Regions from separate parts of the Homo sapiens genome. Here all the other regions are linked to region 5. The links are contacts of gene promoters, found by promoter capture Hi-C in blood cells and fetal thymus (Javierre and others, 2016). All regions are on one chromosome and are shown on one strand. The core of a region is centred on a gene start or on the middle of the fragment in contact, and the rest is flanking DNA. Distances in the headings are between cores, read along the strand shown.

Region 1 (2,749 bases), core at 189-2,688, 590 kb before region 5:
TTCCAAGTCTGTCAGAGAACAGAAAGTTACATAGTAGCATTAAAAAGCATGAGAAGTCAAAAAAATAATAACTGGCCTTAGTGGCCAGAGCAGCTGCTGCATACACTTATCACAGGTTTCGGCTTTGTAAATTAATTCATCTGCAAATAGTGCACTGTCTCCAGGTACAAATTCGATGCTGGAGCACTGGTTTCTTAAGGATTTAAGTTTAAAGTCAAAGGCTTCCTGCCCTAGGTGTTACAAATAAGTAGTGTCGTTTTCTTTTTTTGCTCTGAGTTTGTTCATCCAATCGTATCCGAGTATGCAAATAAACTTTAGCCCGTGCAGATAAAAAAGGAACAAATAAAGCCAAGTGCTCTATCAGAACCAAATTGCTGAGCCAGTCACCTGTGTTCCAGGAGCCGAATCAGAAATGTCATCCTCAGGCACGCCAGACTTACCTGTCCTACTCACCGATTTGAAGATTCAATATACTAAGGTGAGTAAAACTTCTATTTTCTGCTTTGACTCGGGTTTGCAAAAACTGCATTTATGTAAAGCATTAAAGGTCAATTTAAGTAAACTTGTGTAAAGAGCCCTTTGCAAATATAAAAATAAAAGGCATGCAAAATGCAGGTCTCAGTTTAGTGTCCTGATCAAATATGATCTAAATCATATCAGACAATCTTTCATAAATTTATTTCTTAAAATATTTCCAAGCGAAAGGAATTCTCTTCTGTGTGAAAGGATTCTTATACCAGGATTCAGAGGACTTTACTAAGCACTTCTATTAACTTCACTATAGCCGGCATGTATGATAAGAGAGCAAAATACTCACTAGAGAAGCTTACTGGAAAGAACCAAACGAGTAGGAACAATAGAAAGCAAACAAGGAGAAAGAGAGCATACTGAAATAACATAACTTTCCAATATGTTTAATAAAATGAGTGTTAAAATAGGGGGACTTAAGTCTGATAATTGGATTCGAAAATCTTCAGATGGACTTGCATTATTTTGCATATTTTGGTGGGAGGAAGAAAAGCATTATTTCTTCAGCCAAGTTTGTTGCCATTGGAGCAGATGTGTAATTGTTAACTGATAAATATTTAGAGAAACAAGAGCAGGAGCTAGATCCAGACTTTAAAATCCGCAGCTGGGGGGAACTAGGAAATGGATCCTGCTTGAGTCGTTCTGAGAGTAACTCTGAACTTTGCCTGTTTCACACTGCTTTCCTGTCAGATCCTAGAACTCCAAAACAAACAAATGAATAAAACACAATCTAACCAAAATTACTTGAAGTTATCTTTATGGTGTGATGCAGAAAGTATGGTAAGAAATTAACTCTTGCAAATCAAGAGAGAGCCATTTTGCTGTCTGAATTAGCCAACAGAAAAACAAAGGGCATTATAATTTAATGATAAAGTAAAAGTCCCCACTGTTATATATTTATTTCCTCACTTGTAACCATGGATGGCTTTGAAATCCCAAGGTCTGTTGCATTTTCATTTTCATAAAGCACAACAAATGAGGAAGTTGCTCAGCTGATTGGCTCTTTTCCTCAGGAAAGTAGCAGCAGAGATCAGATTGTGCCTTTAACATGGTTGACCAGCAGCTATGAAGTGTATTTTAAGGTATTGTTATCACGAGGTTTTGTTAAAGAGGAAAGATTTTTTCCATTTAGTTTTACTACAAATGGTAGCATGAAAAATGCAGTAAATCCATACCGTCAAACAATTTACATTTGGCAAAGGTATGTCCAAAAGGTTGCAAGAGTCCAGTCTCCCTCATTTTCTTATTCCAAGTTTGTCATTCACAAGAAATTTCAATTGAAAGTGGGTACATTTAAAAATACATTTCATGAAGCTCAAAATTGTCGACAATGCTCAGATTATTGTATTACTATTATTAATGGGATTTTTTTTTTAATAATACTACCTAGGAAGATATTTTGGTAGTCTGGATGCCCCTGTCTCCCCACTCCTTTGGCTTTGCAGAAGTTTGCAAAGTCTTCCTTGTGTGTGTATTTCAAGGAAGCTCTAATGTAAATAACCTTCCTGCTAAATTAAGCTTCACTTAGTAGTCATTAACTAAGCATGTAAGAAGCGGTACTAGACAAATGAGATGGTCCTAAAAATCTAACATACAAGCACAGACCTAATGAACCCTTAACACAGAGAGATGATTTTGAGATTGAAACCTATTCACTTCGAAGTCACTGTGCAACAACTCCCCTCTAGGGAAAGTGACTGACCTAAGTGTCCAAAAGAAGGCAAGACTCAAAGAGCAGGCGTTTTGCTCTGTGTTTAAGAACTTTTCTGGGTAAAAATACTCCAAACAAGTCAGTGAATTTTGATTTCTCGTGCATCTTCTATATAAATCTGTTCTGCTCAGATAGCATTTTATTGTTTAATTTATTGGTTACAGCGTTTTCACACTTGGGAGGACGCCAGTTATGTATGTAATTAAATCTAAATGGGTGAACTTTTTCAAATGCCTTCGCATTTTTTGTTTACTATGTCCCAGTGAAGAATTGGATTGAATTTGCTCTTGCAAGAGGAGTTAAAAAAAAAAATGATGGTTATTAACTATAAAAAGTTCCCTGGTTACAAACCAAGTAAGCAAGGAGTTTATAGTGTCTGAGGAATTATCTTCTATTACCAGCCCCTAAAGTCTTGTGTTATTTTTCTGTTACTATTCTAATGTCCTTTTTTATTATTATTATAGCTAGAAGTATATTGGTTGTTAGGACAAGTTGGAGAGAACAGACAGG
Region 2 (2,731 bases), core at 113-2,612, 610 kb after region 5:
ACTGCCTCATGGCAGGGATTTTAGTGAACTTTCAGGGAGCCAAAAGCCTATGACCCCCACAGTTTCTTATACTTTCGCTGTATTATATTTTAATAGGTTTTTGGGGCAGGCAAGATTTTTTTTTTCTTTAAGGAAGGAGATAATCTGAGTGATACGTGGTGTGAATCTAGAAGTCTGATGCATACAGATGTTTATTATAACAATAGCTTAACTTGGGAATATCACTTATATGTGTCTAAATCGATCAAATAGATAAAGCAGGTAGGGACATATAAACAATTAGGGGTTCTCAGTCCCTTGTCCTTTCCCTTCATAGGCAGAGGTTTATAATTAAGAGTTGGTGCATTTCCCTTCTACCTCTGAACATTGACCTGGCTATAATCTGCTTAATAAAAGTAAACAAAGATCTGTGTAAGTAAACTAACTGTGCAGAGTGTCTTATTTCTTGGAAACATGCCAAACAGTTGCAGGTGATTGTGACTCATACTGATTTTTGAGAGTTGAAGGAAAAAGACAAAAGCGCTGTGACAAGGGCAAAGAAATAATGGAGAATGCGCCTTGTGGGACAGTGTGAAGGCATGTCCTGTGGAAAATCTTCTATTTTAGGAAATCAAAATATTTTACCCCCAAATATATTTCTTTGACATATTTTGAGATGTCAGCAAACAGCAGCAAACAGAAGTCACCCTGCAAAGCAGTCTTTTATGGGGGAAATTTGCATCTATAGAAAATATGCATTAATGCAGCCAGGCTTTCTCTTGTCCGGTTCTAGGAAGGATTAATTAAGTCTGACTCCTTACAGATCTGAAAGAGACATTTGCCGTCTCTCCTCTCAGGGGTGCTACCTGTGAGGTTCGGTTCATCTACATAACAAGACCACCTTTGCTTGCCAAGCCTCCTTACATAACCTGTCTTACAGCTAAAACCTGATTTACTACTGTAACCTGTTTTCGGCCATGCTCTGAGCCTGCATTCTTTCTCCAATTTCTAGAAGGTATTTACACACTTCTGTACCCCACCAGGGGGTTGGGTTTTCATTCTGAAGTCTCCTGTGTATAACACATTAGATAAAGTTTTGTGTCTTTTCCCCTGTTGATCTGGCTTTTGTGAGTTGATTTTTCAGTGAACCTTCAGGTGGCCAAGGTCCTTGGCCCCACACCTGTTTAGAGGTCTAAGGGTTTTCAATTCTTTGAGAGTATGCTAATACACAATCGAGCAGATCTCTGAATGAAAGTTGACTTAATTGTTTCAACCATATGTCCGTTTTCTCATAAATAGCTGTATGTATAGACCTAGCATTTATGTTGAATTCTTTGCAGTGGTTGTTTTTTTAAAAAATGTATATTATCCTGTGTGCTCTGGGAATAGAATAGGTGATACATTATATTCTGCTAAACTACGTATAGAAAGATTCCTCCCTACCCAAACTCTTTGAAAACCTTTATAATAGTTATTTAAGTACATAATCTTCTTGAGAGTATTGGTCACACTTAATTATTTATTTGAAACTTGCGGAATTAGAGGACCTAAAAAGTCTGCTTTGCTAAGGTTATTTTCTAATTGAACACTTTTTTATGTACAGGGTATTTGTTGAGTTCACTGTTTGTCAATGGACATAATCTGAATCTAAAACAAAACTAAATGAAACGCCCTAACCCTGCTTCCCCTCAAACCAAACCAAACCAAACCAAACCAGAAGATCTAAATGGTGATCCCTGATGGTTATTCTTTGTTGTGTTCTTCTCCTGAAAGTAGGAGGTTGGGAATGTGGAATTATTAATTGAAAATTCAAGGCAGTTAGAATCTGGTTAAATATTTTATTAGGTCAAAAGTACAAATAATTATAGTATCATCTGTTTTCATGATAATTCATGCTCACTCCTCTTTTTACTTTTTGCTGCATGTTTTTACTTTTTGGGCATACTAGTGAATGTGTTAGATCTTCTAAGATCGTAATAAAAGAAAAAATGTTCTTAGCCAAATTTTGGCCAGTTGTACTGAAACTCTCCGAAAGCAAAAATTGTAACTTGACCCTTAGGTTGAGTATTGTTTAAAAAATTATGTCCTTGATCAAAAAAGAACTGACCTGATTAGATCGTGCCAACTTCTTGGCTCTTCCCACAAGCCTGAATCTTCCATTCAAAAATTAGTTTTCTTAAAAAGCCTAGGCGTGATTTGAGAGAGCTTAAATGAATCAAAAGTATTGTATTTTCATTAGTTGTTCAATATGAGGGGATGATGGGGCCAATATGCATTTCTTGGACTGTGTGGCTGTGGCACCTTCTCTGCATTGGGTTGGAAGGGCTAGATTATTTGGGGGACTGATGATATAGCCTAGGGGGCAAGTGTCCTCAACCACCATGTAAGTGATAAGTACCTTTGTCTTGCATATTAACATCTCAGCAGCTGAAAGAACACTAAAATCCCTTTTAAAGAGCTCCTACTAGTTTTGAACTGCTGCCGCTTTCTCTGTGTTGAGAAGCCTTTCTCTTTGATCACAGCATTGAATGGCTGTCAACATAACAAAATAAAGTGGAGTGGAATGTTTCTTTTTTTCTGTGTGCCTACTGCATTTCATAATGTGTAGTTAAAACTATTACAAAATATTGTGAAAGGTTGAATTTATCTAGGTAGTTTGCTGCTCTTTATCTTTAGAATTCCTTCCTGCAGTTGTTAATAATACCTTTTAGTCACCTATTAGTTTTCATACTAGAATTGCATTTTATAAGAA
Region 3 (2,794 bases), core at 166-2,665, 550 kb after region 5:
TGCATGCCACCACGCCCAACTAATTTTTGTTCTTTTAGTAGGCACTGGGTTTCACCATGTTGGCCAGGCTGGTCTCAAACTCCTGACCTCAAGCTATCCGCCTGCCTCAGCCTCTCAAAGTGCTGTGATTACAGGCGTAAGCCACTGCGCCTGGCCAAAACACGTTTTTTAATTAAAAAAATTTTTTTTCTGTAAACATGTTTTGTTTAAATCATCTGTAAAATGAAGTTAATAAAAGAACAAACCTGTTAGGATTGTTTTGAGGATTAAATGGATTAATAGACCTAAAGTGTTAGGAACTGTGCCTAGCATATAATTAGCATTCAATAGATATAAACTATTCATATTTTTCTTACGTTGTATTTATTATTCTCTGTCTTGACAGGGTCTCCACCACTCAGTTACCCAGTCCCAAAACTCAGATTCCACTCTTTTTACCCCATCCCTCAGAGACCACATGCAATGGGCAAAACTTATTTCTCTCTTGAATGTACTCTCTCCTCTCCATTCCCACAGACATACCCTTCATTTGATTTCTCATTAGTTTAGTTCCAGGCCTCTGATATATATTCCTGAAGATCTCCCTACTCCCATAAGAGTGACTGTTCTAAAACACAAATCTGATCATGTTCTCCCGCTAATGAAATCACTTCAATGGCTGTATGCGATTTACTCTCAAAGGGTTCAAAAATTACATATATATATATGGAAAGAAAGAGAGGGGGAATGAAAAATGGGGCAAAATGTTAACAGTAGATAAATGGTACACAGGTATGTTGTATAATCTTTTTTATTGTGGCAACTTTTCTGTACGCTTATATTTATTTTCAAAACAAAGTTAAACAAACAAACAAAATGCTTCACTGGCTTTCCTCAGAATAATATCCAAAGCCCTTACCTACTTCTCTAGATTTATCTACTCTCTTTCCCCCTTGATGTTTAAGCTTCAGCCATAATACATGATTTTACTTCATTACCTGTGAGCTTGCTCTTTTCCAAATTGAAATGCTGTGGTCTTTCCAAGTTGTCTACCTGGAAAAGTCCTGTTTATACTTCAATACCCACAGCATAATCCCTTCTCTATGATACCTGTGTTATTGGACTGAATTAATCATCTGCCTCCCTACCCGGGTTCACTGTGTTCCTCATTTTGACTCTTCTCCCCTTTTATCACATTGTGTAATTCATCTATTTCTTCTTCTAATCTCAGAGTTCTCCAGAACAGAGGCCCCATGTCTTATTCACTGTTGCATCCCCAAAGGCTGAAATCCTGATTTCTGCCCGCTCGTGTTTGCAAGTTCATTTTTAGTTGCCAGCTGTGCTGGTTTCTCACCTTCTGCCATTTGAAGTGGCCACAATGGCACTCAGCTCGCGGCTGCTTCCTGTTGTTCCCAGCTGAGCCTTGGCTCCTAGCTACTCTCCCTATTTTTTTTATTTTTATTTGTTTCCCCATGTGAAGGAAGTGAGCCCGTATAGACGCAGAGCTGAAATCTAGTGATCATCATTCTTTGTTGTAAAGCTCACCCCCACCCTTGCCGCTCCAGTGACCTCCTTCCCTTTATTCTAATTCTGTGTTTTAGAGCCAGTTGCTTTACATCTAGGAAGTCTCAGTTTTCTCCTCTAGGAGAGTATGCTTGAGTCCAACATTCCTTGTTAGAGAGGATTTTTTTTTTTTGCTTATCCCTCTTGTTCAGACAGTGCATACAGTTCATTTGATCTAATTCTTCGTGCTAATTTGTCAAAGTTCATCAAACATTAACAGAAACTAACTAGTTATTTCCTTAGAGTTATGTAAGTCAAAGACCAGCGTGCTGCACTCTTGGCGAATGTGTGCCTTTTTGGATTATGTTTTCATTCTACAGATATTTTAGGAAAACGTAAGCTTAGCCCATTTCTAGCAATAAATGGCTTTTCTAAAAGTTCCAAGTTTTCATTGCTATCTTTCAAAAATATTTGTTTTGTGACTAAGAAATAAAGGGAGCCTCTAGAGAAGAAAAATATCAATATTGGTTATAAAACACATTCACTCTGAAATACCAATACCACTTCACTTGTGTGTGAACATAAGAAGTATGACTCTGAAATGAATGCTTCATGACAGCAAGGATCATGTCTTTCTTTCTTGTTCAACACCCTATGTCCAGTGCCTTGAACAGTTCCTGACCCATGGTAAGCGCTCAACAAATATTTGGTGGGTGCCTTAGTGAAGGAAGTCAGCGAACCTATTTGGGAGGATGTCATAGTTCAAGGAGCTTAAATATATTGAAGCAAGTGGAAAACAGGATCCTGAATAGCTTCTTTGGGCCCTGAAATTTGTCTTAAGAATACCACATGATGTTTCTGCTGTAGCTATAATGAAGATGTTCAGCCACGCCTGGTCAAGGTCATCTCATGGTGGGTCGTCTCTAAATGTTTCTGGAATGGAAAGTTGTAACAATATTTTTTGGTCACTTTGTGTTCCCACTGTTGTACGTTGCAGTATTTTGAGCCAGAGGTTTTCTGGAGTAGTTTTACTGTAATACGGGGCTGAGTTACTGACAGCCATCCCCTTTCTTACCTGCTTTTTACCAACACAGTACAGTTTCCTATACCTATCAGTGATAGGGAAATGATACAGCTGACATTAGTACACATGAGTAACCCAAAGTTGTTTTGTGTTAATCTTCCAGGTCATATGCTCTAACTTTACTCATGTTTTAAATGATTTGCTGTTATTTTCTTAAAGACCCATTTTATTTTCTCTTTGAGTTCATGTTCTTTTTCTTGGCAGCCATGTCTAGATATTCTTTTTTTT
Region 4 (2,700 bases), core at 6-2,505, 590 kb after region 5:
TTTCTTTTTTCTTTAGACAGGGTCTTGCTCTGTCACCCAGGCTAGAGTGTGGTGGTACGATCATGGCCTCATTGCAGCCTCAACTTCTTGAGGATCAGGTGATCCTCCTACCTCAGCCTCTTGAGTAGCTGGGATTACAGGCATGTAACCCCACGCCTGGCCAATTTTTTGTATTTTTTGTAGAAATCTCACCATGTTGCCCCGGCTGGTTTCAAACTCCTGGGCTCAAGCTATCTGCCCGCCTCTGCCTACCAGAATGCTAGGATTAGAGGGATGAGCCTGCACCTTGCCCAGTCTCTCTTTTCTCATCATCATAACTTATCTCACTTTTTAAATTCCTGTCCTCAAGGTCAACATTCTTTAGATGTTAGCTTAACTATCACTTTCTTGGACACGTCTTTCCTGACCACGTCACCTTAAATAAGCTTTTTCACAATCCTGCTCCAACTCGTGTGCAAGTGCTTTTGAAGCCTGTGCTTACATCACGCTTCTGTTGTTACAGTGGCCAAAGCAAGTCACATGGCCAAGTTCAGAGTCAATGTAGGAGAGGACCTTAGTAGAATGTAAATATTGGGAAATGTGGCTTATGGAAGGCCATCGATGTAACTTTTATCCCACTTATTACTCCTAATTTTGTTTATTTCCCTTATTACTGTCTGTATAATCATGTGTTATTATTATTTTTTTCCCCTTGGCTCACTGCAACCTCTGCCTCCTGAGTTCAAACGATTCTCCTGCCTCAACCTTCCGAGTAGCTGGGACTGCAGGCGCGTGCCACCACACCCGGCTAATTTTTTATTTTTAGTAGAGTCGGGGTTTCACCATGTTGGCCAGGCTCGTCTCGAACTCCTGACCTCAGGTGATCTGCCCACCTCGGCCTTCCAAAGTGCTTGGATTATAGGCATGAGCCACCGCACCCGGCCGTGTTATTACGTTATTGGTTTATTTGTCAGTTTCCTTTTATTAGGGGTCCAAACCCCTACTAAATTGTAGGGGCTTTGCTGTCTTATTCAGCTTCCAGAATCTATCAGTGTTTGCTACATAAGACAACAATAAATATCTGTAGAATAAATAATTGAGCTCTGAGTTTTCTAAGCTGTGTTCAGCTCATCTACAAAAGACCCTGTGTTAAGACAATCATGGAAAGGGTTGACATTCCTTCCCTTCTTTTTAAAGCACCGTGTGTATTTTCACAATAGTTTTCTGAAAACAATGACTCAATTTAATCATGTAGAAAATTCTTATATCCAAATGGACTATAAAATCAGATTTTTCTACTTTTGTCATGAATGGCATTTTTCCATTGTATTCTTGAAAACAAAAAGTAGTTGATGATTTCTGTTAGTTTGTTTACATTATTTCAAGTAATTTTTTTCCAGCTTTATTGAGCTGGAAAATAATTGACAAAAGTATAATTGACAAAAGTTGTGTATTCAAGGATACAATGTGATGATTTGATATATGATACATTTTGAAATGATTACCACAATCAAATTAATCAACATATCTATCATATATGTCATAATCCAGTAATCCTGTTTATCTTTCAAAATAGTCTCATGTTCATCCCTTACTTTTTAAAAATTTTAGACATGGGGTCTTGCTTTGTTGCTCAGGCTGGAGTGCCATGGTGCTATCACAGCTCACTGCAACTTTGAATTCCTGGGCTCAGCCTCTCAAGTAGCTATACTACAGGTGTGCACCACCAAACCTAGCTAATTTTTTAGAGTCAGATTCTCGCTTTATTGCCCAGGCTGGTCTTCAACTCCTGGCCTCAAGTGATCCTTCTGTGTTGGCCTCCCAAAGTGCTGGGATTACAGGTGTGAGCCACTGTGCCCAGCTCATGTTCATTTCTTTAGAGAGAAGTGTAGAAATTGTCCAAAAAAAGATTTGTGTAATTGAGCTGGATTGATGATAACTTTTGACATGTTGTTAATTGTGTATTTTCAAATCCATGGTGAGCTCAAGTTTCCTAAAGAGCTCCTTTGTCATCCAGGTGGCCCAGAGGCTTCGCAGGGATTTATTTATTTTTTCTTGTACTTTAGTAAGTTTGTAATAATAACTATGGAAAATTTAGAAAGCTTTGATATAATATACTTTGGGGGAATTTTGACAGCTATGTATTTATGCATGTAAGGTACTCCTAATCTTGCTTTTCCTTTCTGATTATGTGCCTTTGAAGATTACACAGGATCCTGTCTTTCTAGGCAGAACAGGTTAATACTTCTTTGCTGGTTGCCTGGAAGGAACAGGAAGGAAGAGATAAAACCTTGGAGATAATGCATGATTTCAGGATGTTGGTATTATTTCAAATTAAAGTCTATATTCATAACCAGGTTTCTCAATTCTTATGCAAATTCACTATATCAACTCTTCTGGTACATATCCATATGTGAATATAATGAAAATACACTACATTTCTTGTGTGTATTTCTTCAGTTTACACAGATCATGTAATCCTCATCCAGCAAATTTATAAGATATTAGTGGTAATACTGCATATATTGTAGACATGCTATGAGCAAATCTTTTTTTTTTCTTTTTTTTAGACAGTCTTGCTCTGTCACCCAGGCTGGAGGGCAGTGGCACCATCACGGCACACTGAAGCCTTGACCTCTGGGCTCAAGCAGTTCTCCCACATCACCCTCCTGAGTATGTGGGACTACAGGCACACACCACCAAATTTGACCCAGAAAATCT
Region 5 (2,779 bases), core at 250-2,749:
ATGGCCTGTAAATGGTAGCTGCTATTTTTTTTTTTTTTTTACTAATTCATCTGCTAATTTAAGGAAATAAATTGCAGTGGTCGTGGGACCAGTGACCCAAACTACTTAAATCTCTAATACATTAATTGATCACAGTAATAAACCCGAATTTGTTAAAAAACAAAACAAAAGGTTGTTATGCTCCAGGTACTTTGCTAACTGTGGCGGAGAACTGTTTGATTTGGCAGTGGTGGCTCAAGCTATCAGTATAGCATTCCCCCAAATACAGATTATAAATAAGGACCACCTGAAGCGCAATATGGGCCCCCCCCCACCCCCGCTCCCACCCCGGAACAACCAAAACCATATCCAGGGGAGATGCGTAGGAATCTTTAATCACCCCAGGTGATTTTTTTTCTGATTACCAACTTTGAGAAACACTGAAGGGACCTCTTCTCCATTCTATATGTGGCTAATATAAACCCTAAACATCATTTCTATGTATTCGTTAGACCGTTGTTTACTAGAAAATTTCAGAAGTCCTTTCCGACTTAGTAATTTTGTTATTTTGAGTTGAACTGAAATTCACTTGGAGCGGTCAGTTGAAAATGTTTTTTGTTTGTGCTCTGAAAAGGTTCCCAGTGTTCCGGGTAAAGTCATCCTTTCACCCATGGGGGACCTGTGCCTCGTGCCTGAACTGCCCGCCTAGTACCTCCCCCCTTGAACTTCCTCTCGCAAGCCTCCTCCTCCCGCTTCATCTGGGCCTCGGGTCTAGCTTGTTTTGTCCCTTCGCGGCTTTTGAGTAGAACATTTGGTGCTTTCCCAGTTCACGACGCTTTGCTGGAATCGTCAATTTCCAGGGATTTCACAGGCTGGCCAAAACAGTTTGTTCAGAACAGCGCCGCCGGGGCATTGGCAGCCCTGGGCGGCCGCGCGTTTCCTCACTCCGCACAACCACCCGTGACCTTGGGCGAGCGAACGCACGCCGCCAGCTGCGTCAGGGCCACGCTCGGGCTGGACTTCGGAGCTCAAAATGGGTGTGGGGAGTGAGGAGGTTTCATAAACAGAAAAGACCTCGAAGCCATAAGGCAATTCTTTTCCTTTTCTGGGGGTGAATCCTTACGATTCTTGGGGGAGGGAATGTCTGCCCAGGGCTGGAGACAAAGCGTGAGAACTAGGATGGCGAAAAACGGGTTTGAATGAGAAAATCCGAAGGAGGGAGGCTGAGGGCGGACAATTGGGTTAAAAATAGAAACGCATCCTCCACAGGACTCGCTCTTCCCAGCTCCACCCTAGGGGCCGACTGCCAGGCCAGTGGCTGGGCTCCGCGAGAAGGCACAGCAACCCGTCTCGGCCCCGCCTCCTGGACCTACTGACAGGGCACCGGGGGCGTGGCCTTGGGCCCGCGACGTCACCGCGCTCCCCGCCGCCGCCGCCGCCGCCGGGGTTTTCGCTGACGCACGGGTCCCGCCCCCTCCCCCTCTTTTCCCTCACAGCCCGGGCGCCGGGCGGCGAGTGCGTTAGTCGGCCGGGACGCGGAGCTGTGTGCATCTCCTACGCGGGCTCGCTCGCTCCCGGGAGCCGCGCAGCTTCCCCGGCGGTGGCAGGAGCGGCGAAGAGCGCCATCAGCGGGCCCTTACGGCCCCAGGCCTCGCGGCGCGCGGTCCGCTCGCCCTCCTCGTCCGCCCAACCTGCGGCCTGTGGAGGCGTGAGGCGACGACAGGCGAGCGCCTCGAGCAGCGTTAGCCGCTGCGGCCGCCGGTCCTCCCTCCACCTCCTCCTCGGCCCCCCCTCGCTTCCCTCCTCCCACTTCCCGAGCTCCGGCGTGTCCCGGCCACGCTCGACGCTGCTGCAGGAACAAAGGAAGACCCCGCGGCGGCGGCGGCGCCACCTCCGCCTGCTGCTCCGACCCGCTCCCGGCCCGCGGCGGCGGCACCAGGGCGCCCGGCTCAGCCTTCCCGGAGGCCTCGGCCCGGCCTCATCGTGCCGGCTTCGCGCGCGAACCCGGCTTTCGCATTTGGGACCCTGCAGGGTGAGTGATACGGGGCTGCGGGTGGGAGCCGGGCTCCTTGTTGCCGGGCCGGGGGCGGGAGTGAAGGGACCGGGGCGCCGCGGGCCAATGGCGAAGCCGGAGCAGGCCGCGGATGGCGGCGTCCGGGGGAGGGGAGCCCGCCCGCCAGCCCAGGAAGCACAAAGACGGAGGCGTCATCCTGTCGTCGTGGCCCGAGACCTGGCTCCCGGCGTCCCTGGCTCGCTCCACAGCACGGTCGGGAAACAATGCACGGCGTGCCGCCTCTGCGGGGCCGGCCTCTAGGCCGCTCGCCTCCGCGGCGGCGCCCGGCGTGGGCACCACGACCCAGAGAAACAAAGAGGCCGAGGCGGCGGCCGCGCCCCCTGCCCGTTGCAGCCCCCCCTAGCTCTCCCCTAAGAGGAGCCGTTCGGGGTCGGGGGTCGGGGGTCGGGGATCCGCGTGGGGCCTGCAGGCGAAGGGCTGGCCGGGCCTGCTGAGCTGCTGTTCTGCATGACTCAGTGGTTTTCGGAGAGGGCCCTGTTGGGCTTTATTGAGTGAGGCCTTTGCTTAGAGGGGGATGGGGTATCAGTGGGACCCGAACTTGTTCCAAAATCCATTGGAACATGGGGCCGGGGGTTCTCGGCGTCGTCTTTTGGGCTTCTCGACGTCGCTGCGTTTTTATCCTGAGATCCGTTTTCATGGAGGAAATGGAACACCTCCTTTGTTTGGTGCATTTAGGCTGATGAATGTGAAATTTTTTGCTCGCTTTCCACGCACTCCGTGGAGGTG

What was found. The method cuts DNA at HindIII sites, captures the fragments that hold promoters and counts their contacts. A CHiCAGO score of 5 or more calls a contact.
Region 1: a contact is called between a fragment that was not itself captured here and the fragment with the promoter of ZFAND5 in region 5, in 1 of 17 cell types (monocytes). The highest score is 5.1, in monocytes.
Region 2: a contact is called between a fragment that was not itself captured here and the fragment with the promoter of ZFAND5 in region 5, in 1 of 17 cell types (neutrophils). The highest score is 5.1, in neutrophils.
Region 3: a fragment that was not itself captured here is called in contact with the fragment with the promoter of ZFAND5 in region 5 in 1 of 17 cell types (fetal thymus); the score reaches 5.1 in fetal thymus.
Region 4: a fragment that was not itself captured here is called in contact with the fragment with the promoter of ZFAND5 in region 5 in 2 of 17 cell types (total CD8 T cells and fetal thymus); the score reaches 7.1 in total CD8 T cells.

Annotation. Positions count from the first base shown.
Region 1 is chr9:72,950,664-72,953,412 of GRCh38, reverse strand. ALDH1A1 (aldehyde dehydrogenase 1 family member A1) reads left to right here and starts at 360. Exons shown (of 13, transcript NM_000689.5): 1 at 360-478. The coding sequence starts at 413. The HindIII fragment of the contact is 1,221 bases long and covers 828-2,048 here.
Region 2 is chr9:71,756,703-71,759,433 of GRCh38, reverse strand. All of the region lies in intron 1 of CEMIP2 (cell migration inducing hyaluronidase 2), which reads left to right. Among named protein-coding and RNA genes, the nearest start is that of CEMIP2, 10 kb to the left of the region's middle. RefSeq lists an enhancer at 1,942-2,585. The HindIII fragment of the contact is 3,934 bases long and covers 1-2,731 here.
Region 3 is chr9:71,815,938-71,818,731 of GRCh38, reverse strand. No RefSeq gene overlaps it. Among named protein-coding and RNA genes, the nearest start is that of CEMIP2, 49 kb to the right of the region's middle. The HindIII fragment of the contact is 938 bases long and covers 947-1,884 here.
Region 4 is chr9:71,776,059-71,778,758 of GRCh38, reverse strand. No RefSeq gene overlaps it. Among named protein-coding and RNA genes, the nearest start is that of CEMIP2, 8.9 kb to the right of the region's middle. The HindIII fragment of the contact is 1,656 bases long and covers 428-2,083 here.
Region 5 is chr9:72,363,928-72,366,706 of GRCh38, reverse strand. ZFAND5 (zinc finger AN1-type containing 5) reads left to right here and starts at 1,499. Exons shown (of 7, transcript NM_001102420.3): 1 at 1,499-2,011. RefSeq lists silencers at 1,261-1,640, 1,651-2,480 and enhancers at 1,088-1,792, 1,793-2,496. The HindIII fragment of the contact is 8,298 bases long and covers 1-2,779 here.